Linked DNA regions of Homo sapiens: region 1 is linked to region 2. The links are contacts of gene promoters, found by promoter capture Hi-C in human tissues and cell types (Jung and others, 2019). All regions are on one chromosome and are shown on one strand. Each heading gives the region's core, a stretch centred on a gene start or on the middle of the fragment in contact. The rest is flanking DNA. Distances are from core to core; before and after follow the strand shown. Region 1 overlaps PAK2 (p21 (RAC1) activated kinase 2). Region 2 holds the start of PIGZ (phosphatidylinositol glycan anchor biosynthesis class Z (Gwada blood group)).

What was found. Contacts are between HindIII fragments. The study calls those that stand out against the background at their distance.
Region 1: a fragment that was not itself captured here is called in contact with the fragment with the promoter of PIGZ in region 2 in 2 of the 25 tissues and cell types used here (lymphoblastoid cells and spleen).

Annotation. Positions count from the first base shown.
Region 1 is chr3:196,820,160-196,824,167 of GRCh38, reverse strand. It overlaps PAK2 (p21 (RAC1) activated kinase 2), which reads right to left. Exons shown (of 15, transcript NM_002577.4): 13 at 3,601-3,797. Among named protein-coding and RNA genes, the nearest start is that of SENP5, 46 kb to the left of the region's middle. The HindIII fragment of the contact is 5,691 bases long and covers 1-4,008 here.
Region 2 is chr3:196,966,052-196,970,348 of GRCh38, reverse strand. PIGZ (phosphatidylinositol glycan anchor biosynthesis class Z (Gwada blood group)) reads left to right here and starts at 1,516. Exons shown (of 3, transcript NM_025163.4): 1 at 1,516-1,662. LOC124906255 (collagen alpha-1(I) chain-like) reads right to left here and starts at 1,216. Exons shown (of 3, transcript XM_047449439.1): 1 at 1,100-1,216; 2 at 137-953; 3 at 1-48. The coding sequence starts at 1,216. The coding sequence ends at 138. RefSeq lists silencers at 177-396, 407-726, 837-896, 1,007-1,066, 1,077-1,286 and 1 more and enhancers at 332-867, 868-1,403, 1,404-1,939. The HindIII fragment of the contact is 30,202 bases long and covers 1-4,297 here.

The sequences.
Region 1 (4,008 bases), core at 33-2,532, 150 kb after region 2:
CAGTCTTAATGATTTTCTCTTGGCCCAGAGGCACTCTCCGTGGAACTACAGTGCTTTCCTGGTCTTAGAGCCATGTGCCCTGGCCTGGTCAATGAGAAGCTTCTTGAGGCCTTGTCTATCTTCAGCTTGGAATGAGTTCCGAAGAACCTGCTTGTTTCTGAACACGTCCCCCTTCACTTCATGTACAGGCTCTGATACACGTGAAGGTCAATCTCGGTAGATTCATAGTGTCTTCTGAGCAGCTGGGGTGGAATTCTCATCTTCCTCATCCAGGCTGCCTTTTTGGTAATGTGTGCATTAGCAGTTATGCCCATATGCCTGTGGGCCAAGGTGTTTTTTTCTTTTTTTTTTTTTTTGCGACAGAATCTCTCCCTGTCGCCCAGTTTCAAGCAATTCTCCCACCTCAGCCTCTCGAGTAGCTGGGAATACAGGTGCACGCCACCATGCCTGGCTCATTTTTGTATTTTTAGTAGAGACGAGGTTTCATCATGTTAGGCTGGTCATGAACTCCTGACCTCAAGTGATCTGCCCACCTCGGCCTCCCAAAGTGCTGAGATTACAAGCATGAGCCACCGTGCCCGGCCCAAGGTGTTTTTTTTGTTTGTTTGTTTGTTTGTTTGTTTGCGGGGATCCAGCCTGGGAATGGATAGTCACAGGCTTGCAGATGATCAGCCCATCTTTGATCAGCTTCTGGATCTGCTGATAGGAGCTTGGCGCTGGTGATTTTACCGATCTCACTGAGGTTCAAGTAGACCTTTTTGCCACAGTGAAGGCCACTGGAGGCGAGCCTCTTCTGAAGCCTGAGCGTACTCCTGGCTATAGACGCAGCCCTGTAAGACTCTTCAGCTTTGTACAGGAATGCAGTTGAGTTACTTGGGAACAGATCCCGTTAGTCTTTTCTCTCTCATGTAGACTCTTCTTTCAAAATACATCCAGACTCACACCACTTTTTCCCACCTCCACTGATACTGCCCTGGTCTAGGCCATCATCACTGCTTGCCTGAATTATGACATCAGCCTCTTGACTGGTCTTCTGCTCTGCCTTTGCCTTCCTCAGGGATCTCTCAACAACGCAGCCAGGGAAATCCTATTAAAACTGAAGGAGACCACTTTGCTTCTCTGCTCAGATCTCTCTAACAGTTTCCCCATTTGGCCTCCAGTAAAAGCCAGAATCCTTCCAGAGCTCTCATAAGGCACTACGGTCTGGCCTGGTTTCTTCGCCGATCGACCGCACCTCTCGCTGTTTGCTCAGCGTACGCCAGCTGTGCTGAGGTCCAGAATCATCTCTCAATACACAAGGAACGCTCCTGCTTTAGAGCTTTTGCACTTGCTGTGCCTTCTGCTTAGAATGCTTTTCCCTCAGGTAAGTATCACGCTCTTACTTCCTGTGTCCAAATGTCACCTCAGGGAAGCCCTCCCTATGCACGCTTTTGATTTAATTTTACATTTTATTTTTATTGTATTTTTTTTGAGACAGGTCCTAGCCGTCACCCAAGCTGGAGTGCAGTGATGTGATAACAGCTCACTGCAGCCTCATCTTCCTTGGGCCCAAGTGACCCACGCACTGGGGCAGGATGATGGTTCCAATTAGCTGTGACTACAGGCACACACTAACATGCTTGGCTAATTTTTAAATTTTTTTGTAGAGATGGGGACTCACTATGTTGCCTAGGCTGGCCTTGAACTCCTAGGCTCAAGCAATCCTCCCACCTTGGCCTCCCAAAATGCTGGGATGACAGGCGTGAGCCACTGTGCCCAGCTCTCTAAGCACCTTTTGAAAGTAAACACCCTAACCTCCTTCCTGCCAGTCTCAGTACTCAAGAGTCCATTATTCAATGTATGACACATTATTCTGATTTATTTTGTTTTTCTCTTTTCCCACTAGAAGACAAGTTCTGTAAGAGCAGGAATTTTTGTGGGTTCTTTTAGACAGCATTGTGAATAGTGCTCAGCGCATGGCAGGTACCCAAACCAATACTGGCTAAATGAATGAATAACATTAGAGGGCTTTAATGTCATTCTGAAAAGTGGTCTAAACTAATCACCTCTATAGAAGTACTTTAACGGCCCACATAAACTGGAATCTTTGGCAACTGGATGAAAAGCATTCAGGAAACAGACGGTCAGAATCTGCTGCCATCTGTTGTTCGGCTTCTTTCACTTAGCACAGTACTCTCAAGGTTCAATGCTGTAACACGGATTGGCACTTCCTTCCTTTCTATGACCAAATAATATTCCACTGTTCACCAGGTTTGAATTATTTCCACTTCTGTGGCTGCATGAAGGTTTCTGTATGGATGTATGATTTTAATTCTCTTGGCTCTGTACCCAGCAGAGGAACCGCTAGGTCATCTGGTAATTCCGTATTAACTTCACACAGAATTGTCAAGTTGTTTTCCAAAGCAGATGTACCATTTTATATTTTGCAATGAACGAGATTTCTAGTTTCCTTATCTTCTCACCAACATTTATTTATTTATTTATGGAGACGGAGTTTCGCTTTGTCGACCAGGCTGGAGTGCGATGGCATGATCTCGGCTCACTGCAACCTCCGCCTCCTGGGTTCAAGTGATCCTCCTGCCTCAGCCTCCCACGTAGCTGGGATTACAGGCACCCACCACCATGCTCAGCTAATCTTGTATTTTCAGTAAAGATGGGGTTTCTCCATGTTGGTCAGGCTGATCTTGAACTTCCAACCCCAGCCTCCCAAAGTGCTGGGACTACAGGTGTAAGCCACCGCACCCGGTCACCAATATTTATTAATTGTCTTTTTGAGTACAGCCATTCTAGTAGTTGTGAAGTGTTATCCTGTTGTGGTGGGGTTTTTTGTTGTTTTTTGCTGAGACAGAGTCTCACCCTGTCGCCCAGGCTGGAGTGCAGTAGTGCTATCTTGGCTCACCGCAACTGCCACCTCCTGGGTTCAAGCAATTCTCTTGCCTCAGCCTCTGATTGTTGAGGTTTTGATTTACATTTCCTTAATAACTGATAATGTTGAGCCACATATGGTAATTTAAAAAAAAGAGAAGTGGCCAGGTGCAGTTGTTCACACCTGTAATGCCAGCACTTTGGGAAGCCGAGGCGAGTGGATCAACTGAGGTCAAGAATTTGAGACCAGCCTGACCCAACATGGAGAGACCCCGTCTCTATGAAAAGTACAAAAATCAGCTGGGTGTGGTGGCACGCACCCATAGTCCCAGCTACTCAGGAGGCTGAAGTAGGAGGATCGCTTGAACCTGGGAGGTGGCGGTTGCAGTGAGCTGAGATTGCGCCACTGCATTCTAGAATAGGCAAGAGAGTGGGACCCTGTCTCAAAACATCTTAAAAAATAAAAGAAGGAGAAGCTTTAGAGACAGGTGCTCCAAACTTCCTACGTAAAATACAAAACAATACAGCTTACTACTAAAAACCTACAAAGTCTTCACCTAACACATTAATTTGTAACTCAGAGAGCAAATGATTTCTAGATGCAGAGTTAGGGGCAGAGATTAGGTTTTATCAACCTTCTACTTTAAATTCTTGGACAGTGCCAGGCACGTGCAAGTTCTAAATAAGAGTTTCAAAGAAAAACATTGAACAAGGCTGGTGTTTAACTCATCTTACCCTCAAGGGATTTTCATTGAGGTATGGAGGCTCTCCTTCTACCATCTCAATAGCCATGATACCCAGAGACCATATGTCGACTTTAGGGCCATAAGCTTTCCGTGTAACCACCTCTGGTGCCATCCAGTATGGCGTTCCGACCATGGTACTGCGTTTGCTCTGCTCAGGGGTGATCTGGGCACAGAAACCAAAGTCAGCTACAAAACAAAACAAAACAGAGTTAATGGCTTCCATGGATGGTTTTAGCAGAAGAGTTCACTTCAGATTATGTAATTAATTATATTTTGACTATTAGGCCTCTTGTTTTTAAAGATTTCATTAATAAAGTAAACCAGAATGAGTTTAAAAATATTTTCATGATGTAACACACTCTCACATTTTACTTTTACTTGCCACAGAGTCCAAATT
Region 2 (4,297 bases), core at 267-2,766:
CCGAGATCGTGCCACCGCACTCCAGCCTGGGCGACAGAGACCCTGTATCTAAAAAATAAAGGAAAAAATTCATGGAACTGTATACTTCCATGTACTGTACTTAAATTTCCTGGTATTTATCGTATGTATAGAATACCTCACATCTTAATAAAGTCGTCGTTTTTAGTGTGAGGGGTGCTATGGGGCACGGAGGGCGATCCGGCTGCCGACCCTCGGCGGCGGCGCGGGAGTGCGAGGCCGGCGGGGAGGTCGGGTCCTGCGGCCTCGCCGGGGCCCCTGCAGCGCTCTCCCGCCAGGGGGCAGCGTCGGGCCGGCGGCGCGGGCGGGAAGCTCCAGCGGCCGGGACGCGGTGGTGCCGTCTTCCCCCTGCGGTGAGGGACCGCGTCGCGCCACCCCGCTCTCAGCGCAGCCCGCAGCGGCGAGGCCACCGGGTGGGACACGGGTGCCCGCGCGTCGCGCCGCAGCTCGCGGGGACCTGGCGCCCCGTCCCGGGAGGGGATCTGGCCCCCGGGCGCCGGCTCTCCGTCCACGCGGCGTCCTCCCTGCAGCCCGCTAGGGCCGCTCGCCCGTCGCCGCCTGCGGAACGCGGAGGGGCAGCACGGCCACGCCCGGCCACTCGAACCTGCTCCCCGGCGCCGCGTGACCGTGTCAGGTCCCCGTCGGCCTCGCCGTGCCGACCCCGGGCGCCTCCACAGTGGCTCGGAGGCCGCTGCTGCCCGGATGCCCGGGTTCCACGAGGCTCTCCCAGCCCGACAAGCCCGCCGATCCCACGGGCACGGGCGGAGGAGAGGGAACCGCCGCGCCCGCCCCGCGCGCCGTCGCCGACCCCGGTGGGTCGCGCTTCCCCGCGCACGCCGCGCTCTGGCGCGGGGAGAGGCCCCTCGGGGTCCGCCCGGGTCAGCGTCCCGCGGGGGTGGCGGCCGTTCGCTCAGCCTCCTCTCGACTTCCCTTTCCTGTCAGGGCTGCTGGGGCTGACAGGCTCCCGGGCAACCACGCCGGGGAACCCCTCACGCCCGCCGATCGCTGCGGGGCTCAGCAGCCGCCCCGTGCGCTGAGTCCCCTGTCATGAGTGACTCCATTGCGAGGCGTTTCGGGCCACGAAGCAGGACCGGGGGCCGCACTCCGGGTCCCCGCCCTGCCCTCGCCGACCTCCCGCGCGTGGAAGGGGGACGGCGGCGGCGGAGCTCCCCGCCACGGAGAACCCCGAAATGGTCATTTCGAACGAGAGGAGTGTGGCCTGGGGTGTCTGGTTTAACAGCCCCCCGCGCCGAAAGGCTGTTCGCCGAGGAGGGGCCGCCGGGGAGGGAGCCCGAGCGCGGCGGGGCGAGACCGGTCCCCGCCCGGCGTTGCCCGGCCCGAGGGACGGCGGCGCCCCCAGGACCCTCCCCAGCGCGGCCCCAGCTCGCTCCGGGACCGCGGGGCCAGGCCGGGCGGGAGCGCGGGGACGTACACGGCGGCCCCGCCCGCGCGCTCCTCCTCCCTCCCGGCCCGCCCTGCGCCGGCGGCGGCGGCCCCAGTCTCCGCGCTGCTGAGGCGCGCCCGGCCGCTCCCACGGCCTCCCCTCCGCCCTGCGGTCCCGCCGCCTCCGGGGCCTCCTGGGACCCTGGCCCTCGCCGGGCAGGACGCCGCCAGCGCTGAAGGCGCAGCCCGGAGGCCGCGCGGGTGAGTCGGTGCGCAGCCCCAGCGGCTCCAGAGGAGCGGGTGCGGGGAGGGCGAGCGGACCAAGTCGGCCGCGTTCCCACCTTGCGCGCAGCCGGGAGACCAGCAGGCCCAGCCTCTAGGGAGGAGGGCAGGGGAGCTGGGGGCCGCCCCCCGCATTCTCGCAGGCACCTGTCCCTAGGCCGGGGTCCGCTGGCTCGAAGCACTGACCCGCCCCGGACCTAGGGGGACGGAGGCAGCGGTGACATTTGCCCAGGAAGGGCGGCAGTGGGTAAACTCCACTCCAGGGCACGGGTCTGGGCGCAGGTTGAGGCCTGGGGTTGAATCTGCTTCTGCTAGAGGCCAGTGTTCTCAGGGAGGCCCATAACCCGACTGGGTCTCAGTTCCCCCTGGTATGAAACAGCAACAGGGCAAGAGGAGGAAACCATGCCACGCTGCAAAGCTCTGAGCACGAAGCCGAGAAGAATCTCGGCTCCCGGCCTCGGGGGCTGCACTTCGGGCCAGGCCTGCACTCCCAGGATAAGAGGATGGCCTCCTGCCCCAGGGGTGGCATGGGGGCGCGCAAAAAGCAAAGGTGACCCTGCCAGGGAGCACCCAGCGCTCCGGTTGGTGGTCATGGGGTCTTTGCGTGGGACTCACAGTGTGGCCGGGAAAGTTCTGTAATGAGGACATTTCTCATCATTCCTTCTTCTCAAAAGTCATTCGTCAGCCCCAGACACCTTTGCCTCGGAAAACTGAGAACTACTTTCAAAATCGTCAACACCCCCATCTCCTGCTACAGAGCGGAGTCCCCACTTTGCAGAGGCGCACTGCAAGGTCGCGGGTGGTTAAATGGTGCGCCCTCCTTGATGAAGATGCCTTGTTCTCTTTCACTCTCTATGTGTGTTTAATGTTGTGTGTTGCGTTCTCTGTGAAGCGAAGGATAAACACGGGCCCTTTCAGGCAACCGAAGGAAGAAGGCGGCCAGCATCAGATCTTCCCGTGCTTCAAGGTGGAGCACCCTGCAGGGCTTACTGCAGCGCTCAGGGTCAAAGTGAGGATGCAGTGCGGCACCAAAAGGCAAATGGACTCTGGAGAGCCACTCTCACCTTGTACCCCTGGAGTAGACCCCGAGGACTGGAGGACTGGAACAAGATCTTAGTCCTGAGGGCGGGAGAAGCAGCCTTTGGTGGTTGCACAGGGGCCCGGCTTTTCCCGAAGTCTTAAAGCCTGCTCCAAATGCCAGATTCAGACAAAGGGGCCGAACCTTGGGCCCGCCGCCTTCTCCCATAAGCGGCAACCCAGCAGCTTTGCCAGGAAGTTTACATGTGAAGGTACGGACCTTTCTTGGAATGAGCCACACCTGATGGCCCTGCCACTCCGGACGGCGCTCGTTCACGGCTGTCCCTGGAGCAGACACGGTTCTGCGCACACACCTGGGCGCCGGAGAAACAGGGCACCCAAAGCGGGCCCAGGCCCTCGGACTCAGCGAGCTGGACACGTGTCCCCATCACCCGCGGCTGGCGGGAGCAGTGTTTCTACTCCCTTCCCTCCCCTCCTCCCGCCCCGCAGATGTGCTGTCTTTCCCGGCCTCCCCCCGCGCCCAGCACAGTGGTTTCTGCTTGGCTGTTCCCCTGTCTCTGAGATGGTCTCTCCCTGCTGCTTGCCCTACACATTCTCCCACACAGGCGCGCGGGATGCCCCTGTCGGCGTGGTTGTCAATGCCTGCTCCCCTGCCCCCCAGTCCAATCTCCACGACTCTGGGCCCTGTCGCTTCATCCTAAAGCCTTCCGCTCACGAGCCCTCCCGACGACCGACCCCCAGGAGGCTACTGGAGATGCAGGATTTGGACCCGTGCTGGACCCGCACCCGGACAGATCCCTCTGAATGAATGAATGAATTAATGAGCAGGCTGCATCCTGATTAGGTTAAGGTGGGTGGTTGCCATGCTTGGCGTTGGCTCTGTCCCCTGGGATAAAAGGCGAGAGGCAGCCACATGGACAGCTCCTCCAGTGGGGTCTCAGACTGGAGAGACGCCAGCGGGCGGGGGTCGTTCCCTGGAGCTCCCGCATTTGTTATGGTCGATGCCCCACTACGTTGTCACCTTCTCCGGAGGACCTCCTGCTCTGTCCTTGACAGATGGGCCCCAGTGGGCCCACCCAGGCTGGAGATGAATCTCAAAGGGACTCCATGCCTGGGAGACCTCAGCCAAGCAGGGCAGAGAAATAATCAGACAACAGTCAGCGCATGGCGCCTGCAGAGTTTTGCACAGGGTCCTTCAGAAGGAGGGTTAGGGAAGACTTCTTGGGGGTTAGGGCAGTTAAGCAAGATGGATAAAGAAAGCAACCACTTATGTCTGCATATTTTCTTCATTTCATCTTCACAACAGCCCTGAGATAGGTACTTGTTTTAAAGCTGAGGTATAAATTGGGGTTCAGAGAGATTGAGTGCTTTCACCATGAACAAGTGACAGAGAGCAACGACTTGAACCGGGTTACCTGATGCCACCGCTGGTCTTAACCTCCATGTTATTAGCGTATTGGGTAAGTGAAACCGTGTGAGCCAAGAAGCTGGGGTGAGAAACAGCACGGAATAGAGGAGAGGGCTGCAGAAAGGCGTGATGTTTCTGGAGCACCGAATTCTACTCACGAACACAGGA